Regions from separate parts of the Homo sapiens genome. Here regions 1, 3, 4, 5 and 6 are each linked to region 2. Evidence: promoter capture Hi-C in 16 types of primary human blood cells and fetal thymus (Javierre and others, 2016). All regions are on one chromosome and are shown on one strand. Each heading gives the region's core, a stretch centred on a gene start or on the middle of the fragment in contact. The rest is flanking DNA. Distances are from core to core; before and after follow the strand shown. Region 1 overlaps GMDS (GDP-mannose 4,6-dehydratase). Region 2 holds the start of LINC02521 (long intergenic non-protein coding RNA 2521). Region 3 overlaps GMDS (GDP-mannose 4,6-dehydratase). Region 4 overlaps GMDS (GDP-mannose 4,6-dehydratase). Region 5 overlaps GMDS (GDP-mannose 4,6-dehydratase). Region 6 overlaps GMDS (GDP-mannose 4,6-dehydratase).

Region 1 (3,518 bases), core at 400-2,899, 540 kb after region 2:
TGTCAAGGTGGCAAACTTGTTCCTAAGTTAGTTTTTTTAAGCTTATTATCAGCCATAGTTTAACCCCAATCAAGACATTCCTAAGAGGTTTACTCCGAGCTTTTATAAGTTTATTTATATGTCTTGTGGAAATTTTCAGTTCAGTGCAGGGTTTGCTTTAAGTGTTTCTCAACTAAGCGTATAAAAATTAGACTTTTTCTACCTTTTATGAAATTACCATAAGGATTTAAGATTTTGTTTCTAAATAAAGTTATAAACTACGTACAAATTCTTAGATTGGTGTTTATCCTTGTTAATCTATGATAGCTAAAAATATTTCAAGTAGATTACTTTCTTTATTACTAAATTTTCCTTATTTGAAGAGTAATTATAAAAATAATTTATGTGGCTGGGCGCGGTGGCTTACGCCTGTAATCCCAGCACTTTGGGAAGCTGAGGCAGGTGGATCGACTGAGGTCAGGAGTTTGAGACCTGCCTGGCCAACATGGCGAAACACCATCTCTACTAAAATATAAAAATTAGCCGGGTGTGGTGGTGGGCACCTGTAATCCCAGCTACAGGGAGGCTGAGGCAGGAGAATCACCTGAACCTGGGAGACGGAGGTTGCAGTGAGCGAGCCGAGATCGTGCCACTGCACACCAGCCTGGGCGATAAAGAGATTTCGTCTCAAAAAAATAATAATAATAATATTATGTGTAATTTTCTTATTGTCCCAGTTTAGTTTTTTTTTTTTTCTTAAAACATAAGGGAGCATTGAAACAGCTTTATAGTTTGTTTTCACATGCTTTGGTAGTTTGAAAGTTGTTTTGTTTTGTTTGTTTTTATAGTCGTACTAAATTTAGAAAGTACCTGCAAATAAATTCTATTTAATGGTAACCATTTATTTATTTGACATGTTTCTTTTGTTTGTCACTATCCTAACCATGTAGACTGGTAATTGCCTTGCTACGAGAAGATCCTAGTCTTTTCTACAGTCAAACAGCTAGGTTTTAGGGCGGAACTGGAGCCTAGAGTAAAGGCTCACTTTCTTAACTCTTCACTGGGAGCTAAAGCTCTTCTTCCCGTGGCCTCTCCCTTGCTTTGTCAAAGTATGACATGGATGGATTGCTTGGAATTCTTTCAAAGCCTTTCCTGTGTAATAATGATGGCAAAGATTTCAGGCATTTGTCAAGGGCCACTAGCATGTGTGTGACAGCAGTTTAAGGGGGGAAAACAGTGGATTTATTACTAATAAAATATTAAAACTCTTATATTTAAAGCCAGGCATAATTTACATTCAGTTTCACCCCTCGTCGTTTTAGCTGTCCATTTTCTACTTAAGCTGCACCCTCTTTCTCTTCCCAGAAGCCTTCATCCTCCTTTTAGCCACCCCCGCACCACCATCTCCTTCCCTAGATAGGTGATAATGCTCAGTCGCCGAGGGGCTTTGACTAGAGCCATCTGTTCTACTCTCTCTCAAGAACAACAGACAAGGCATTATTCTGTGGGGGCTTGTGTATACAATTATCTACAATAATAAAATATAAAACTACAGAGTTTTTAGATTCCAAAAATTCAGTGATCTGTAACAGCTTCCATTGGGTTTCTGGGTGTTCTTGTAATTCATTTTTTCATTTATTACCTGGAATTTGCAAACTTTTTTTTTCTTTTCAAATATATTTTCTTTATATTTTTGTACAGCATGATATCATTAAAATGATACCTGTTGAATTCACATTGTCTGTTAGTATATATACATATTATATATCTGTCTTTAGTGACTATATAAAAAAGACAACTATTCTTTGACTCTTAAATATATGGGCATTTTTATATATAAAATTTACAGTCACTAACTTAATTAGTCTCTAGATGTGTCTGTGTACACATACATGTAATATACGTACACACAACTAAAATATAAAGTCATGTGTTCATTGTGACTTGTTTGGAATTTTAGTGAGATAACTGTACTTGGAGCTTTTATCCATCTGTTTGAATGGAGAACCTCCCTTTTTGGCATAGGTCAAATAGGTTTTCACTGACCCCAAGCTAGTGAGAATTGTTTTTTTCTATTTGCTTTTGATTAGTCCTAGAATTACTGAGTAATATGTGGACTTCCCAGCTAAAGAACCTATTTAAATGTTTTTTGGAACTAACTATGCCGATTGAATTGTGTTTGACCTACTGACAGCTGTTACTTAGCTTGTCATGCTCCTTAAAATGGCAAATCATTAATGTAGTCCTTTCCACTACATTAGTTAACATAAAGTGTCTTATTTCTGAAATAGACACGGTGAATGTTTCCCTGACTAGGTTGTGCTTAAACAGTGTTCAAGTTTGTAAATATGTTGTTTTCTGAAACAAAAACAAATTCTAGTAATAAAAACAAATTAAATATATATGTTTTTACTTGGAAATCATAAAATATAGTTTATTTCTCTGTACAGGTCCCTGCTTTAAGACACTGGATGTATAACAACAAATCACATGGATATTTACTTCTTTCATTTCACGCCTCTTTTTAATAAACTTTCTGTTTCACATCATTAAAATTAAGATCTACCCTTTTACTCTGCAAACTGGAGGAGAGTTATATAATGTCATAGCTGTACCTCTAATTAATAATGGGGTTGAACTCACTTTATAGATTTAGAAATTCTGGCGTTTCTTTCTGTCAAATGCCTCTTCCTATCCTTTGTCCATTCAGTTTTTATTGCTAATTTGTAGGAATTCCTATTAACTTTTTATCAGGTATATATGTTGCAGATATATTCTTCCAGTTGTCACTTCTATGCTTGCTCTATCTGTGATGTCCTTCACAGAACGTAAATCTTAAATTTCATTGAGGTCAAACCTCTCTCCCCCTTTTTTGAGGGGACTTGAGAATTCTTCTTTTGGATAGCATACTTTCCACAATTGGTGGATGTCTTTCAGCTTCTTTAAAAGTTGTCATCCAGCACATTAGATATATCATTGAAAGGGTTTATATGCTAGATTGAGTTTATGTTCAAATGACTTCCAAGGTTTCATCCAACTCTGCAATTCTAAGATTCCCGTATATTAAAGAGAGATTAAAAATAAAGTGCTCTGTCTATGAAATCTACATCACATTTGCAAGAAACACTCTGTATTTCACTGATTCTGCAACACCGATTTTCAGATGCATCATTATTTTATGTACCATTAGGAAAGCACAAGCTCTTCTGATTAAACTATGACTCAACTCTTTCTCACCACTGAGATTCTTAATATTTTATACTTATTGATAAGCTTATTTAGATTTATTGAGACATGGATTTGTATCATTTTACTCTTGTGTATATGTCTAAAACAAATAGCAAAATGAATTGATTACTTTGCAGGAAAATACAGAATTGTAGACATCCGTCAAGTGGCAGATGTTCTTAAGTTAATACGAGTTTGTGCCCCACTGAGTATTTTAGTTACTTTCTATGTTTAACTTTTTATTACTGAACTATAGTGTCATTAAGCTTAAGATGTGTAATACCTGAAGCATGCACTATTTAACTCAAGTA
Region 2 (3,679 bases), core at 817-3,316:
AACGTGCATGAGCCTGGGGGACATCCTGCTAAGTGTAGTAATCCTGTGATAAAAAGGATAAACGTTGTGTGAGGTTCCTAGTGGTCAAATTCACAAAGACAGCAACTGGAACGGGGGAGAGAAGATGGGGAGTTGGTGTGTAGTGGGGCCAGAGTTTCCATCTAGGAAGAGGAGAAAGTCCCGGAGATGGATGACGGTGATGGTTGCATAGTAATGTGAATGTACTTAATGCCATTGAACTGCACACTTAAAAAAGGTTAAGAGGGTCCATTTTATGTTAGGTGTATCTTAGCAGAACTAAAGCAAAACAGAAGGCAGTGTTAAAAACAGTGGATGACGAGCTCTCAAGGTGGTGGAGGCCATCGCCCACTTCACTTGGGGGACCCCTGCTCTCAGAAGCACACACTTCACGGGGTCACCTGGTGTTCATGCCGGCGACCTTTCTCTCCCTGCCTGTGGCCTGGCCCCAGGTCAGCATTCACCAGGTGGGGAGAGTCTGTGCAGCGCGGCGTGGGCCTTGCACGCTCCTTTTTGTGTTTGTTTGGGTTCTACTTTTCCGGACTGCGACACTTATAACTTCATTAGAAAATATCACTTTCTTCAGACCCACACATTCATTTATTAGGCACTTACGCTCCATAAAATGAAATGCACAGCAAGGCCGCTTTCATGCTTCCTTGAAGTTCTATCAACTTATTTTGGGGGCAGATTTGACCTGTCAGAGCACTTCCTCCGTGGGAGCTCCATATCTAAATATGTGCATATATAGTTTTCTACTTTACTGACGGTAGCTTTCATAAAGCCGCTTGAAGTACTTACTAAAAATCCATCTTAAGACTCTTTCTGCATTTTGGGAGGCCGAGGCGGGTGGATCACCTGAGGTCAGGAGTTTGAGACCAGCCTGGCCAACATGGTGAAACCCGGTCTCTACTAAAAAATACAAAAAATAGTCGGGCATGGTGGCGGGTGCCTGTAATCCCAGCTCCGTACTCCAGAGGCTGAGGCAGAAGAATCGCTTGAACCCAGGAAGCAGAGGTTGCAGTGAGCCAAGGTCGCGCCATTGCACTCCAGCCTGGGTAACAAGAGTGAAACTCTGTCTCAAAAAAAAAAAAAAAAATCTTCCCCACACATAATGTGGCAGGACAGGAAACACTAGGATTCCTCCAGTTTATGGGGAGATTGGGAGAGCTGAGGCTTCACAATGACACAGCCGGGTATGGAAAACACCAAAAGAAATATGCCTTTTTGGATGACAATACTCCACCCCAATTTCCAAGTATGCTACAACTTTTCCTCAGCCTCGATGGGAGGTATTTACAGTGAGTGGTAGAAGCTTTACTGCAATGCCCTGGTAGACACAGGCTCCACCAGGCTTGGCTTCTACACTCTCACTGGGTCTATGGATGAGCACAGAAGCCAGGTTTCTGGCTCACAGAGAACCTAAGTGCTGAGTTTATATATAAAGTGCACAGTGTGAATAATTAAATATGAAAACGTGTACACACCAAACAGGACATTTTTACTTAATGCCAAAGAAGCACAAACGACCCTTTCTTTTGGGAGTTTCACAAGCATTTCTGCTCAACAGTAATCCCCCAGTGACAGTGATAGTAGTGGTTTCAATATTTTGTTTATAAAAAGCAACATTATAAAATGCCCTGAAAGGTCTTGGCTTCTTTTGTGAGCTCTGAACTATTCAGAAATTCAGCTTGCTATCTGGGGACAACAAATAAATCCCTACTCTAAAAAAATGGGATTCGGGTTTTTCTCCTGTGCTGCTTCCTGGCCTTAACGCTTCCTGGGGACTTACCGTCATTTGCTCAGTTACGGTTTCTATGGGATGAGTGGGGAAGCCGCGTGGTGAGGAAGCCTGGCTCGCACCCGGCCTGCGCTCTCTCGGGCCTGGCCGCATCGGCCACCAGGGGGCAGTGTTGTCATTCGCTGGCGACGCCGCCCCGCCCCGAGCGGATGCCACCCCGTTTCCAGCCTCCGGTGCTCACCGTAAGCTCTGTTATTATTATCTTTTGATTTATAAAGCGCCGTTCCTCAGCAGATTCCCCGCCCCCCAGCTGCTTCCGAGAAAGCTCGCAGAAGCGTTCGTGCGCAGGCGCGGAAGCCCCGCACAGCACGCGGTGGGCCCGGTTCGGGGGGGCGCACGGCCTGGGGCGTCGGGAAGAGGCTGCGGGCAGCGGGGCCTGCGGGCGCGGCGTGGCGGGGCGGGAAAACGGCTCTGTCCCGTGGGGCGCAGGCAGGAACGTGTTCCCATAAAAGACACAGGGAAGACCAACCCTGGGCGTTAGCCATCCAAACCTTCCCTCCCGTGCGAAACCCGCTGCCCTGCGGCCAGGACTGTGAGGGAAGCGATGGGAGGAACCCGGGAGCCCGCGAAGGCCGGGCCCCAGAGTCCGGGCGCCCCTGAGCGGGGCGGAGGGGACAAATAGAACCTTTTTAAGGACAGCTGAAAGAGATTATAAGCGCGGTGTGCTGGGACTTTGGAAAGGGCGCGAGTCATTAGTGGGGGCGAATCAGAGGGGAGTATGTTGACGGGATAATAACAAAAATAAAGAGGCTTGATAAGAAAGACACGGCTTTTGGAGTCAAAGGGAAAATCCGGGACAATGAGGGTTGGCAGGTTCCTGGGACACAAACCAGGAAAAACAGGGCCACACCGGAGCGGCCTGCCTGGCTCCAGCACAGCCGGTGCAGAAGCTAATTTTGTTCCGAGTCCTCCTAGCTCAACAAACATGCCGCCATAGCACCTATTTTCTTTTAGGTAATGCTCACAACAACCTAGCAAAGTGGGGATCATCTTCACCACTGTACAGATGAAGAAATTGAAGGTCAGACATTCAAGGTTATGTGGCCACATGAGAGAAATACCAGAGCTGGGATGAAGACTCAACGGCTCTCAGACACCAGGTTGCTTCTTGAGAGAAGCCGGATGGATGTGCATGCAGGGAGGTGAGCCTCAAAGCAGGTCCAGCTTTCTCCCGTGAGTGTTCCAGTGGCTTAGGGTTAGGGTTAGGGTCCAGAGGAGGAGAGGCGTCCAGAGCTGGGGCCGTCTGCGTTTTGCCTTGCTGTCCCAGAGTGGCAGCGAGGAGTGGCCTGGCCTAGAGGGTCTTTGTCTTATCTTGTGACTTGCTGTTTCTCCTCTGTCTGCAGGAGCTGGGGGAGGTTGGAGAAGCCGCAGCCCAGAAGGGGAGGGAGGACACCATGTCAGAGCTTGCTGGAGCAAGCTTTGGAGGAAGGCCACAGGGGACATTGTCACCAAGGGCCACGGCAGCGTGCACCCTGGGTTAGAGAAAGGGGCAAATTATGGATATGAAAAATGCTTCCCTCAATGAAAAGGACCCTGCTGAGACAGGATGGCTGTGGGCCAAATACCCCTACAGTGCCTGATTCTTTTATCTTATTATTTATTTAAACAAGACCAGCATTTTGCTTTAGATAGAAAATCTCTCTCTGCTACAAAATTGCAAGCCCTGGGAAAAGTCTCCAAGAATGGCTGATGCCACAGTCAAACAATAACATACATGTCGGGGTGAAACAGTGCACAGAGGATGAAAAAAGGGAAAAGCTCGAGGCCCCGGGAGGAAGGAGCTGGGAGGGTGGAGGGCGTGGAGGTGTGAGGGCCCAGAGGGATTGCCCAGGAAGGTATGGAGGACCGAAAATGGATCAC
Region 3 (3,328 bases), core at 711-3,210, 950 kb after region 2:
ATATCTTTCCATATTAAGAAAAAAAAAAAGCCAGGCACAGTGGTTCACGCCTGTAATCCCAACACTTTGGGAGGCGAAGGCAGATGAATCACTTGAGCCCAAGAATTGAGACCAGCCTGGGCAACATAGCAAGACCTTGTCTCTATAAGAAATACAAAAATTAGCCGCACACTGTGGTGCGTGCCTATAGTCCCATCTACTCAGGAGGCTGAAATGGGAGGATCACCAGCGTGCAGGGAGGTCAAAACTGCAGTGAGCTGTGATCGTGCCACTGCACTCCAGCCTTAGTGCATTTCTGCACAGACACACTGAGTGGTGTTTTGAAAATCAGATTCACGGCATTCTCTTTAGCACCTTCCAGCACTTTATGGTGGGGGTTGCTGGTGAGATCCCCTGGCCTCTCTGCCTGGGGCTGCCAGGGAGCTGGCGGATGCCACTCTCCACCGGAGGCCTTCCCTGGCAGTCGTAGACTGTTCCCACTGTGCGCCTGGGTCTACCGCCTGGTCCTCCTCACCTGGAGCCACACTGATTTCCATCTTGTCCTGAATGGCAGAGCTTTCATAATTTCTTACAACCTCAGATTCTGACCTCTGTAGGACCACTTTCTTCTTGAGCCATTTTGGGACTGTAGATGCTAGAACACAGCAGATTGAAAATGCAGTGACATATCCCACCATGTAACAGAATCTGTAGTAAGATGTCACCCATGGCAGCCAAGCAGAAGCTTTTATCACAGCCCAACAAGTACCAGCGTGTCTTGGCGGCAGGGTGGCAGGACACTGTGAGGAGGCAGGTGTGTAGACACAGTCCTCTTCTGCATTGGCACATGCCCTGTGCTCATCGCCTCTCGGTGGGGGAGGTGTGTGTGTGTGTATATAGGTGTGTGTATCTGTAAGTGTGTGTATTTGTAGGTGTACGTATGTGTATGAGTGTGTTGTGCACTTGTGTGTGTATGTGTGAGCATGTGTATGTATATTCGATGTATGTGAGAGTATATTTGTGTTACTTCTTTCTTTTTATCCTCCCTGCCGAGGAGGCAACAGTAAATGTGAACGGTGAGAGAGAACAGACTAGTTGTTACATTCTGTCTCACCCACTGATGTGACTTTTCTTTAGGAAACATCATCCAGGGTAACCTGTCATGAAAAGCTGCCTTTTAGGTCACTTATGTCCATTTCAGAAATGGCAAGGGCTCTGGGCATCCACCAGGCACCAGGCCCTATTATAAGAAGACCCCTTTGCAGTCATCTTTTTGTGGTTTGTTCAATGGGCACATGCTGGGCAAAGGCACTTACCAGGCAAACCATTATGTGGCTCTGGCGGCTCAAGTGATGCACCTGGAACATACGCCGTTCATGACACTTTGCCTTTATGGGCCCCTTTAACTCGAGGATCTCAAAGGGCCTCAGCAGTATGACCTTGCGTGTCCTGGCCGGGCGCCCAAGGGAGGGAGGCCAGAAGGTCCACGCTGCTTTCCGTGTGAGAAGTCAGGTCACGGTGCCGGATCAGAACTAACACCTGGCCTGCACCCTCATTGGTGTGGTACTTTGGAAGGCAGAGGTATAAGAGGAGAACTAGCAATGTTGGCAAATGCTGATAGTTGGGGTCAGGATCCCAAAACATTTAAATTCTGATAGGGGTCAGGCCCTGTTTATTTACTGCCACTCAGCTCTCTGCCTGTCCTGTTCATTAACCTGATGACTTAGAGTCATGTCTGGATGGTTTGGAAGGTGCCACGAGGAAGCAGGTGGATGAAGGGCGCACATCAAGAATTCATGGTAGCACAGAGAAATGCCTCATATAAGTGAAGTTCACCTCTGAGGCCCGGTCTTTGAATATCTGGATGCCTATTTTCTTAGGCAGTAGAATTTCCTCTTTGTGACCAGCTGAAAATATCATCTACAAAGTGCGCGTAATTTCAGTGTACAAGACTTAGCCTAATGTGTGAAATTACAGACTAGTTGAAATTAATGATCAATTTGGCAGGTATTTGTTCAATGTGGCTATGGCTTATCCAGGCTGTGACATCCAAGAACAATATATTTCATTGTCAATCTTTTATTTTGTTTTCTTTCCTTTTTTTTCCTTGTCTCCAGGAGACCAATTAATTGTTCAAAGGTAATATATAGAGATCTCAAGAGCATTTACTTTGGCACAGTCTCTGCCCCTTTGTGGTCTGGCTAACAATAAAGCTAAGATTTGTTTTGTAATGACGGTTCCAGTTGGACTGGAATTCCTTTGAAGTTCCTGAAGTTTGCTGTTGTGAGAGCTCAAGATATTATTTGACTGCAATGAAACACTCTCTGTGTATTATCAAAATATCGTATACACTGAACTGTAACAACTTGCAGTAATCAGACTTCTCCTTCGAGGTGGCCTGCGTGAGTAGAGAGCATCCACAGAGAGATGAGCTTCTCCCAACATCCATTTAGTGTTCAGTCATCACGGGCCACTCATGGATCTGAACCTTCTTACAAGGTCGATACCAACAGGTATGAGGAGCAGAGAGCAGATCAGCACGGAGCAGCATTAGCTGGGGCCCCCTTGCCTGGCCTGGCAGTGAAGATAGAGCACCATGCCAGTTGTTCAGCTTCTCAGCGCTTGCGTCAGCTGACCTAAATTATTTAAGGATGTTGTCACCTCTAAATAAATATAGTCATTGTCCTGGTCTCTATTTATATTTTAAAACTCTTTCCCAGCCCACCCCGATGGCCTAAAACAATTCATATATTTCAGTAGAAGAGGGTGTCACAGGGCTATTTGCACAGGTTTGGATCCAGTGCCAGCGTTAGCCTTCACACAAGTTACACTCCTCTGAGATGTAACTGTCTCCTGTGTATGAGTGCCAAAGTATTTGATAACCGCCATCTGTCTGCTCTCAACACAGGTTTCACAAGCACAGTGATGTCTTCCATTGTGTGCGTAACAACTGTGTGTGTGCGGAGAGAGAGGACTCTGTACGCATGCACATGTTTGGAGCTACATAAATCTGAGAAGCAGTTTTGTCTAGTGTCGTTTCAGTAAATGGGACTCATTTAGTCAGTTTGCTTTGCTGTCAGAATCATATTCCAGATATCAGAATGTGCTATGGCAGGTACTTGTTTAAAACAAGTAATAATATCCTTGTAATGTTTAGCAATACAGCTGACTGGTCTGTGTTCCATTACTTGTGTAAAAGGAAATATGTAAAGCTTTTAAAAATAAGTTTAAATGATCAAAAGAGATGCCTGAAAATATATTTTGGCACAGGAAATTACAGGAATTTATAAATGTGTCATGTGGAAAGATAATTACAAAGTTTATTTTAATCTTTTATCTCTGACTGAAT
Region 4 (3,383 bases), core at 459-2,958, 930 kb after region 2:
AAATGAAAGCTTAACACAAATATAGTTTATCCCTTCGGACAGATTGATGTACTCCACGCTAAGGGAAGGGAGGGAGAGGCAGAGAGACAGGAAGAAATGAAGGAGGGCAAATGGGTTTAGCAAAGGCATGCGCTGTAAATATGGGAGGCGGGTATCTAGTCATTCTACAGTTAATTACCTAAAGATTCCTGAACCCAGACTTTTTAGTCCCTGGTTTGTCACCCCGGCGGCATCATCAGCCTGAGCTGGCTTCCTGGGATTTTGCACTTCACTGTTATGATTTACGAATAGGATAAGTTATGACTGACCCTTCTTGACTCCTGCCACCTGTCTGTCAGTTATCTTTTAAAGTACAGTTAGGGTCTCGGATTTCCAGAACTGGGGCTGGGATGGCCTTTGAGTGTCAGGCATTCCTGTTCTTGGTGGAGGTGGACTGCTCAGCCTCAGGTCCCAGTGCTGGGCCCGAGGAGGGACAGCGCGAGGTGTGCTGGCACCTGCAGTCTTCTTTCTTGCCACCGCATAGGACATCACTAGACAAAAGACATCAAAATCAGATGCTGTTGTCCCACGTTGCCATCTCTCTCCTCAAATCAGTGTCCCAATATTCAGGCCGACTTCGGTTCATCCTGTTTTAGCTGTGCCCACTAGAATTTAAAATGTGGCCGTGCAGCTCCTGACTCTGCTGAGGGTGCCTCGGAACCAGAAGACTGTAGAGCTGCTTTTCTCCCAGGGGAGAAACTAATGATTTGCAGAAGCTAGTAATTTAGAGTCTATGGAACTTGCCCCAGGCTCTCCCTTCCCTCCTGCTTTCAGTGGTACTGAGGAGCTGTATTTAATCTGAACAGAAAATTCCATTTTCTTCTGATGATTTTGTGACTATATGAAAATGGAATTAAGGGATTGTAGATTTCTTCCCCACAAGCATATTTTAAAATCCAGAGTAAAAATAAAAACTTTCGCAGAGTAATTGAGAATAAAGGTGAGAAGTTTTCTAATAATACTTTAAAAAATTCTCATATACAGATAAATTAGAAGAAGCATGAAGACTTTTCCTTAAAGAAATGTTCCTTTCCCTGCACTTTGAATAGATGGACAAAATTAGTATGCAGGGACAGATCCAACTTTTGTGGGAGCTCATACACTTTGGTGTCGGTGCGGAGGGGGTGGTTCTTCTATAGAAAAAGAATGCAAAAATATCTCCCTTTTGCAGAATGTTCACATTCTGCACGTGTGAGCTGCTGTTCTCCTCACCTGGGCCTGGAGAACATGGGTGAGATGCTGAGCCCCAGGGCTTAGGCCAGCTGCCTCTGCGTATGGAGGCTGTGTGTGCCCCTCAGCTGTGCCAGGGAGGAGTCACAGCAGACGGCGTGCTGCCATCCTAATCTCTGTGGCACACAGGAGAATGTCCCCACCCCCAAGGAAGTCCCCATGCTAATTCTAGAATACGTGGCTATGTCACCTTACATGATAATCCAGAGACTTTGCAAATGGGATTGAGTGAAGGGTCTGGAGATGGTCCTGGATTTTCCAGGGAGCCCTAATGGTAACCACAAGGTCCTTATAGGAGGAAGGCAGGAGGGTCAGAGTCAGAAAAGGAGCAGTGAAGACGAAGCGGGGTCAGGGTGATTCAAGGAAGGGGCTGCGAGCCAAGGGGTGTAGGCGCCTCTAGAAGCTGGACAAGGCAAGGGAACGGGTTCTTTCCGGGAGCCTCTAGAGGCAGCCAGCCCTGCCCACACCAAGAACGTAAGAGGATCGACACGTATTGTTTTAAACCCCTACACCTGCGTTAATGTGTTAGGCTGGACTGGCTCCAGCCTCTCCCCTCTAGCCTCTCAGCAACCTCCACAGTTAGGCCCTCCTGGAGACCCCTCCTGGCTGCCTCAGGCCATCTCCTGTACATCCCTCCTCCTCCCCTCACCCAGCTTGTTCTTTCTCCCCACCCCCATCTTCCTTATTTTTCTTCTTTTCTTTGCAACCTCAAAACATAAACCCTCAAGCTCATTTCCGCAGCCTGATGTGCAGTCTTCCTCTCTGTCTTGTGTCTCTCCTCTCACCCATGCCTCCATGGGGGACAGAAGGCTACACCGTGTGGCTCTGGCAGCCCCTCACTCCACACAGTGTAGGCATGTGCTGTTCTATCACACATGGACACTAAGAGATCTTGTCAAGTAGACAGAGACTAAGAGGACCTATGTGTTCATGACACTTTTTAAAGGTCTGAGCTGCCCATTCAGCTTTGCATGAAAATGGAGATTGGGAGTTTTGACCACCCCATGACTGTGGCTTGTTGTGAGTGTCTGCTGTGAAGTGGCACTGCCTCTTCACAATATCGTTGGAATTCCATTTGGCCAGGTGACAAGAAAGTATTCACAAGCCTAAGGAGGAACTTATCTGCTCCTTCCTGAGGAAATATGTGCCCCCACCAAAAAAAAAAAAAAAAAAGGGAAACCAGGCCTCAGTGTGCCACAGAGCAGCACTGCCACTGGAGGCCGCCCTCTGTCCAGGGTCGCGCACACGTGGGCACTGGGGCCGGATGGCCCCCATGCCTGCCCTTCTCAGAGTGGGCTGTGCTGCACTCTGAGAAGCGTCTCCACCTCAATACCAACCCTGTAGACTTGGCTTAAAGCAGCGGTCCTGACTCAGCTCACCTCCCGGCCATCTCATTTCCTTACTCGGGAGAGCGGTGATTCTGTGTATTTTTCTAATAAGCAAAGTCCCCAGAGATGAAAGAAGCCACCACAAAATACTCAACTCTTTCTGGAAACAGAAGAAAGACTGCTGCCCCTATTTGCAGGGAGGGAGGATGTTCTTCCCGAAACACCTGAGTGTGTGTTTGGACCACACGGGTGGAGGACAGTTCAGGGAAACCAGGTTTGCGTTTAAAAGATCTTGGTTCCAACCTCATAGGTGTTGTACACCCATTCCAGGCCTTGTCTCCAGCGCTACCTCACATGTATACCAGCTATAAATACTGCAGTGTATGTATATGTGTAGATACACACAAAGCTAAAGTATACATTCACCAAGATAAACTGTGCTTGCCAGGGCTTTAATCTCCCCAGGAGGCTGTTATTACTGGAGTCCGGCCCCAGAGCGCCAGCTGAGGAGAGGAAGTGAGACTCTGGTGTTGGGAGGCTGGGCGGCGCTCCTCTTTGTCTACTCTTTGCTTTTTAGAACATATACATAGCTAGCATTCACATGTGGCCACAGATGAAATGATATGCTTGACTCCCCTAAAGGTGCCTTTCTTGTCAGTGTGTTACTTTACGGAGATACTTTAACCTTGATCGTCCGCAGCCATACTGGATTCCCATGGAACAAGAGAGCAGGAAGTGCTTCCATCATATTTTCCCCGTTCAGTTTGAGCAATCCAAAATGGAGGG
Region 5 (3,607 bases), core at 706-3,205, 990 kb after region 2:
GCTTGGGCCACAGCAGTGATGCAGAAGAGGTGCAAGGAAAGCCTGGGTGCCAGAGGTACTGGAAGTGGCAAAATAGAGAAGAAGGAGCTAAAGGTGGCTAAGATTTTAAATCTCAAGGATGGGAGTGAGTGAGAGGAATGGTAACAGTGCAACAGGAAAAGAACAATTGCATTTAGTTGGGGGGAGATACATTGACTTCAGTTTTAAACATCCCTTGAGGCATTCTGCAAATACCGATCGAGTGCCTCTGCGTGCCAGGCACAGTGCCAGGTCCTGAAGACAGAGGTCCATATAGTGCACTCAGCACTGATGTTCTAGGGAGGCAGACGACAGGGTAGTGGGTGGATTGGCAAAATAACCACAGATTGTTAACAAGTCCTCAGAGAAATGAGAGGGACACTGTGCTAGAGAGAAGCGAAGTTGCATGTGGAGACTTCTCACAGGAGATGCTTGCTGTAGACAGGGTGACGCTGCGGTGGCCATGGGCACTGGCTGCAGTTGTCAGGCTGGAAAGAAGAATGCAGCCCTGGAATCCAGGAGAAAGGCAAAGGCTGAAGATAGAGTGATGTCCTCACATAGAGGCCATAGTTGAAGTTGTCTGCAGAAAGGGGCCCGCCCCAGGAGAGCCTGCAGAAAGCAGAGACACTAAAGCCAAGGTTGGACCCGGAGAGTGGGAGGAAAAGAGCAAGTGAGGCAAGGCAAGGACAGCACAGGGAACACCAGGCGAGGGCTCCGGACCTCCAGGAGGACAGGGTGAGCGTCCCCGGGCACTCGAGCATGCCGTGCACATGCCATCATGGGGGTAGAAGGCGCCATTTGCACAGTGATTGAAAAGTGCCTTCTGCCATCAAGACAGCATCCGTGGGATATTTTAGCGCTGATGGGTGCAGGAAGCTATGCTAGGCACAGCACGGGTGACTGAAAATGGGCACCATAGATTCTCTGCCCATGGGGGGCTTGCATTCAGTTTGGGGAAGGAAGTGTGCTGGATGACAGGGTATAAGAATCAAGCAGGCTGGGCGCGGTGGCTCATGCCTGTAATCCCAGCACTTTGGGAGGCCGAGGTGGGTGAATTACGAGGTCAGGAGTTCGAGACCAGCCTGACCAGCATGGTGAAACGCCGTCTCTACTAAAAATACAAAAATTAGCTGGGCGTGGTGGCACATGCCTGTAATCCCAGCTACTCATGAGGCTGAGGCAAGAGAATCGCTTGAACCTGGGAGGTGGAGGTTGCAGTGAGCCAGGATCACGCCACTGCACTCCAGGCTGGGCGACAAAGCAAGACTCCGTCTCGTTTAAAAAAAAAAAAAAAAAAAGGACCAGAGTCTGAATCTCATCCTGATACACCCCACTTCCTAACCTCGTGACTCTGGGCAAGTTACTCACTAAGCCTCAGCTTCCTCATCTGCAGAATGTAGGTGCTGGCCAGGCCCTGAGAGCCAAAGCTGTCAGAGCTTGCAGTGGGTGCAAGGCTCACAGTACAGGTGCAAGAAACGGCAGTGGGGGTGGCCGTGAACCCTGGCTCTGTGGTCACCAGAAAACCTCACAGTCCCTCCTCTTCGCCATAAATCAGGGACCTTGGGATCTCCTTCCTGGGCGGGCAGCAGGGATTAGAGCAGCTCCCTGTGGGACGGTACCTGGCTCCTCCCGACAGGAGATGCTGAGAAATGTTGGCTGACTTAGAGCACAAATTTGGTCTTCTAAAGTGGAGAGAATTTCAGCTGGGGAACTTGGGAAGGGAGGAAAAAGTGCAAGGTGGTGAGAAAGGCAGGAGCAAAGTGCAGGCAGCAGCAAAGTTTTGAGCCTGTGGGGAGTGCAGCCTAGCGGCTCATATGCAGCCTATTTATGGCAATGGTGAGACGCCAACAGGAAGGCAGGAAGGCTCTGGCTGTGTTGAGGGCAGGTTTGGATGCCCAGCAGAGGGCTTCCAGGTGGCAATCTGCAGTCCACCTGACAGGCCCTAGTCACAGCTGCAGTGCCATCCGCTATCGTTCACACGTTCGCTCGGGTGGAATCAGGGGTCTCCCCTGGCGGTGGAGGGCCCTCCCCGCGTGGGTCCCTGGAGGAAGAGTGGATCCTCATACTGGTGGCTGCAGGCTACTAGTATCTGCAGGCTGAGGTGCCGTGCTGACCTACCTCAGACCGGGGGTTCCTTGCCAGAAGAGCAGGCCGAGGACACGGGGCAATGTCAGTCACAGCGCTGGGCCCTGGGGCTCAGAGGGGAGGTGTCTGGGGACAACGGGGGCTGGGTAAGGGCCGTCCGCCCTGGGAGCCTTGTCAGCTGAGGAGTCAGGCTTGGCCTCTAGAGAGGGCCCACCTGCAGGGTGCTTTGCTCCTTTGTTTCCTCTCAGGGTTTTTAAAAGGACTTTTTTTTTAGAGGGGAGGGGAGCTGGGAAGAGACTTTCAACTTTTTTTAATTTTTAAACAATTTTATTGAGGTATAATTCACACATCATACAGTTCACCCACTTAAAGTATATGATCAATGGGTTTTAGTCTGCTCAGTGTGCAGCCATCACCACAATCAACTCTAGGGCATTTTCATCACCGGAGGCAAAAACTCCATAACCATTAGCAGTCCCCAGTGTCCCCCCCACCGTGGCCCAGGTGGTCACCTCTCCACCCCTGTCTCTATGCATCTGCTGATTCTGAACTTCCGCTGTCCCCACCTAGCTATAGGTGTGTATCCTTTGACCAGCATCCCCACAACTGCCTAAGGCCCTGGTAACCACATCCTACTCTACTAAAAGGACTCTCGAAGGCTCTCCTTGCCTCATTTATGCCATGGGAGCCGAGGAAGGCATGAGCACCTTGACAGCCACCTGGAGATGAGCACAGTTGCAGCAACAGAGCCTCGGGGGCTCAGCTGCCCCGTGGGCAGTCAGGGTTCGTTTTCAGGAAGGCGTAAGGAAATTGCATTTCCTTACAATGCCTGTGTGTCCTGCCAAATGGGCTGGGTCTCAGGGACACCAAGCTGAGTGAGATGCTGTCCCTGCCCCCCACACTTGTCTGGTCTGGTGAATCAATCCTCAGACACCTTCTATGAGGGCACCCTTGGAGATTCCGGCACATCTCACCTGGCTGAGGACCTCACCAAGCTCCACTTTTCACAAACTCCACAGGATGTGTTGAGAATCACCAGTTTCTCTGGGGAGACTCAGGGGAAGAGACTCAGGATAAGAAAATAAAAGGAAGTATGGACCGGCTCTGCAGGATGCCCCCCTCGTCAGCAGATCCCTCATGATGTGGTTGTGTTAACTCTGCTAAGACCAGGGCTGTTTAAAAGCCCCCAAAGATTCTCTGTGAAGAGCTATTTTAAAATAGGGGAAAAAACTCAGTGAGGAAGGGGACTCCATAAGGAGTAAAGGGAAGGGGCTTCGTGGGGCCCGGCTTTAGGAGCAGAGATCCGAGGCCCATCCTGATCTTCCTGTTGGACTTGGAGAGACAGACCGTCCAGGCCCAGCTTGCCTGTCGCCCACATGGGACCAGCACAGCTGCCCACCTGTGCTATTCACAAAGACACAAGAAGCCATCATGAAGCAGGCTTTATAAAGTCAAAATATTACTCCACGTCTGTTATGCATAAGGACTCAGGACGATGGTCACC
Region 6 (3,456 bases), core at 429-2,928, 520 kb after region 2:
TTTTAAAAGTCTCTTGTCTGTTATTAAACAATATAATAAAACCTTACCACTAATATTGGAATAGCAGTATTTGTTTATTTTGGGTTGTTCCCTGTAGCCATGAGGCCCATGGATGTGTTTTCTGCCATTTCAAATAACAGATTGTGAATTAAATGTTTTGTTAAAATGTTGGAAGATGTAACTAAGTAAAACCTTTATGTTAATATCAATTTTTGGTAGCGGCTAAATTACTGGCTGAGAGAATATTTTTGAGTCCCAATAATATGTTAAAATTAGCTGAATTAACTTTTTAATTGTGAATGGTAAAAATCATTGGAAGAAAGCTTTTTAGTCTCCCTCCTCCTCAGTGTGATATAGCCAGTGTGGATTTTCCCCTCTATTCGCATTCTGGAAGGAATCACGGTAAACATCACAGGCCCATCCTTAGGGTTCTAGTGGTCTGCTTAATTCAAGTTTTTGTTGCCGTGTCCTCCTGCTCACATGAATAAGTGAAATCTGAAGCCATGAATGATAGGAGTTCTATTTAGATACTTGTTCAGACAGGATGGTTAGTGGACCTGAGAAATAAAAGCAAGTAACTCTTAAGTTATAAAAGCCCCTCAAAAGTCCAGAAAATGTATGAGGTTTTTTTTTGTTTGTTTGTTTGTTTGTTTGTTTTGCTATTTAATGAACAAGTACAGGAGTCTTATTTCAGAAAGTTTTTCTTAGGTGATTGGCTATTTTTCTGTATCCCCATGTTTGCATAGAATGGAAGCTAAATGCCTATTCTATATACCTCTGCTTGTTTAAGGAAGAAATCATGAACTAGATAAAATGAAACCAAGTGGAGAACATGGTGAGAGAAACATAGCAATAAACTCAATCTTATAACTGATTGCCAGTCTTCATTATATGTATTTCTTTCAAATGTTAACCTTGAAGGATGGCTACATATCGATGAATGATGATACCTCATATCTGCCTGTGCTGTCTATGAAGAAACATTTTTCTTTTCTTAATCTGTGATGATTCTGTTCTATATCCAGACTTTCACCAAAGTCTGTGAAAGGTATCAGGGTCTTTAGGTTACAGCTTAGCTATTTTTCTAAATGATTCTCCATGTGTTTTTTCATTTTGGAAAGTCTCTTATGCATACTGTGTGCTTGAGAAATTACATCCCTTCTTTCCTATAGAGAAGCGGTGACTTTTTATCATTCCAGGAATGAAGACTTTATTTTTCCCTAATTGAGGTAGTCAGTCTATCTTCCACATTATAAGTCATCTGGCTGCTTCTTGACCTTCCTGACCAGCCATGAGAGTATCTTCCAGACAAAACAGAATGTTTTGGAATGAACATTCTGTTATTCAGTTTCCTTTAGATTAAGAAGTTTCCTTTGTAATCATAGATAGTTTATCACCTCTAGGAGCTGAAAATTGTAATGAAAGATGCAGAAAATTTTTATAAAGGTTTATTTATAGAAGACCTTCCCCTTGTCATTTAGTATTAAATGGGCTGATTCTTTCCTTTCCCCAAAACATATTTATAGTTCAGAAATATGTTATAGTTGGTTTTCTTAGTTGTAGTGATCATGATAGTGTTTTGTTATCGTTCTGGTGTGGTTGTACTGTAAGTAATAGAAATCATAGGCTATTGAGTTGGTTCCCTCTACATTGCTACACATGTGAAGTTTATCTTTTTTTATGGTATTTTGGCTGCTTTTCTTAATGGTTAGTTAATGGGCGGAAATGGCACTCTTCAGTGAGAATTTTGGTTTGTAAGGTCATTTAATCTTCCAACAAATATTTGTTGAGTGCATACCTCATGCAAGGTGTCATGCATGGTACAGTACGAAAAGCTGTGTCAGATACACCTCTGCTGTGGGGGTTTCAACTCTAGGAGGGGTGATTGGCACAAGTGTCTGACTCTTTAGAGGAGGGTAAGAGAGAACTTCCGTCTGGGGGTAGATGGATAGTGCGAGGCGGAACCGACACTGGCTCTGGTGTTGAGGTATAGAGAGGACAGTTACAGAGTTACAGACGTAGCGGGAAACTAATAGTTGAAACGGGGGTAATAATATGAGGCAAAGAGAAGTGGGAAAACTTGGTACATGTTTGCAGCATCATGAGCATTCGAGATGAGCTGAGCAGAACCAGTATGAGGAGAAGTGTGAGGTAAGGTCAGGTAGGAAGCTGGGCTGTGCCTGGGCAGCTACCCATGTTTTGAACGGGGGAAGATATATTCAGTGATGACTTCTAGAGGTAAGAGTCTAGAGGTAGGGCTTAAGAAGAGCTAGGAAGTTGCTGGATGAGGATGGTGTCACTAGAAATGGGGGTGGGAGTGAGGAATGAAACAGGATGCCAGGTGGGGCTGATTTCTCTATGCACTGATGTGGTCACTAGAGAAGAGGGAAACCCAGGGCTCCAGTGCCCAGGGGACCAGAAGGTCAATAGAACCAGTACTAGAAACCGACATTCAAGGAGGAACTTTTGGAGTGGGGTTGGAGAAATAAGTTCCCTTTTGGAAACATTTTACTGGCGTTACTTGAAGGACATTCAAGGGAAGCAGGCTATAAGGTAGCTTCAAATATGCTGTGAGTTTTGAGAGAGATCTAGGGTACAGAGCTGTATATTCAGCTCTTGAGGTCTTAAAGATGCCAAGTAGTAACTGGAGAAAGACGGGTAGAGGACTGAAGATTGAATCTTGGAAACAGGTTGATAGTGAGAGGGTGGGATGAGGACAAGTAGGGCTGATGACTGAAGTGGAGGAGGCAGAGGGTGGGATTGTGCCATGGCAGTCAAGAAATTGGGTCATTGCAAGCAAGAGGGGATGAGGCTAGGAGAATGAGGACCAGGAAAAGTCACCGGCCTTGCCAGTTAGGCCAGCGAGGATTTGTGACGTTTTAAAGAAACATTTTAGTGATGTGACAGAAGAACTTGGCCAGCGTGCAAGGGGTTTAGAAGTTGAGAGGTTATAAGGGAAATGCAAATTGAATGCATTTTTTTCCAGAAATTTTTATGTAGAGGGACAAGAGAGAATATGATGGGTAAAGCTTGTAGCATCATTTGTGGGTTGCCAGGCCTCTCTTCAGAATCCTTGATTCTTTAGGTCTAGGGTGGGGTCTTCGAACTTGCATTTTTAGGGTGTGTCCAGATGATGCTGTCCCTGGTCTGGGAACCGCACTTTGAGAACCCTTGTTCTAGTGTTTCAGGTTTCTTGGTTTATCCAAATAGAATATGTTCCTTAAATGCTTTCTTCTTAGACCTTTGCCTTTAATATATAGGTTTTTGAGTTTGATGTAAAATAATCCTATTACTTACTAGTTAATGACTTAATGAGCTTTTAAAGCCCAAAACTACGTCTGCAGTCAGGAGTTATAAGAATGGAAAGCGAATATGATATATGTTTGTATCAAAGTTCTTGATATTCAGAAACCTCTTTTTCTGAATTGTACATAGTCTGAGATAATAAATACTTCT

What was found. Contacts are between HindIII fragments. The CHiCAGO score rates a contact against its expected background, and 5 or more counts as called.
Region 1: a fragment that was not itself captured here is called in contact with the fragment with the promoter of LINC02521 in region 2 in 4 of 17 cell types (naive CD4 T cells, fetal thymus, total CD8 T cells and 1 more); the score reaches 5.6 in naive CD4 T cells.
Region 3: a fragment that was not itself captured here is called in contact with the fragment with the promoter of LINC02521 in region 2 in 1 of 17 cell types (endothelial precursors); the score reaches 5.4 in endothelial precursors.
Region 4: a fragment that was not itself captured here is called in contact with the fragment with the promoter of LINC02521 in region 2 in 1 of 17 cell types (M1 macrophages); the score reaches 5.4 in M1 macrophages.
Region 5: a fragment that was not itself captured here is called in contact with the fragment with the promoter of LINC02521 in region 2 in 5 of 17 cell types (non-activated CD4 T cells, activated CD4 T cells, naive CD4 T cells and 2 more); the score reaches 8.3 in non-activated CD4 T cells.
Region 6: a fragment that was not itself captured here is called in contact with the fragment with the promoter of LINC02521 in region 2 in 1 of 17 cell types (M0 macrophages); the score reaches 5.5 in M0 macrophages.

What each region holds. Positions count from the first base shown.
Region 1 is chr6:2,095,226-2,098,743 of GRCh38, reverse strand. The region is part of intron 4 of GMDS (GDP-mannose 4,6-dehydratase); the gene reads left to right. Among named protein-coding and RNA genes, the nearest start is that of GMDS, 150 kb to the left of the region's middle. The HindIII fragment of the contact is 3,211 bases long and covers 44-3,254 here.
Region 2 is chr6:2,632,887-2,636,565 of GRCh38, reverse strand. LINC02521 (long intergenic non-protein coding RNA 2521) reads right to left here and starts at 2,066. Exons shown (of 3, transcript NR_149119.1): 1 at 1,811-2,066. It overlaps LINC01600 (long intergenic non-protein coding RNA 1600), which reads left to right and starts at 1,963. Exons shown (of 3, transcript NR_131168.1): 1 at 1,963-2,001; 2 at 2,774-2,961. The HindIII fragment of the contact is 1,903 bases long and covers 1,336-3,238 here.
Region 3 is chr6:1,678,695-1,682,022 of GRCh38, reverse strand. The region is part of intron 9 of GMDS (GDP-mannose 4,6-dehydratase); the gene reads left to right. Among named protein-coding and RNA genes, the nearest start is that of FOXC1, 70 kb to the right of the region's middle. The HindIII fragment of the contact is 2,467 bases long and covers 727-3,193 here.
Region 4 is chr6:1,697,847-1,701,229 of GRCh38, reverse strand. The region is part of intron 9 of GMDS (GDP-mannose 4,6-dehydratase); the gene reads left to right. Among named protein-coding and RNA genes, the nearest start is that of FOXC1, 90 kb to the right of the region's middle. The HindIII fragment of the contact is 3,394 bases long and covers 12-3,383 here.
Region 5 is chr6:1,642,640-1,646,246 of GRCh38, reverse strand. The region is part of intron 9 of GMDS (GDP-mannose 4,6-dehydratase); the gene reads left to right. Among named protein-coding and RNA genes, the nearest start is that of FOXC1, 35 kb to the right of the region's middle. RefSeq lists an enhancer at 1,403-2,350. The HindIII fragment of the contact is 5,748 bases long and covers 1-3,607 here.
Region 6 is chr6:2,112,150-2,115,605 of GRCh38, reverse strand. The region is part of intron 4 of GMDS (GDP-mannose 4,6-dehydratase); the gene reads left to right. Among named protein-coding and RNA genes, the nearest start is that of GMDS, 130 kb to the left of the region's middle. The HindIII fragment of the contact is 2,706 bases long and covers 326-3,031 here.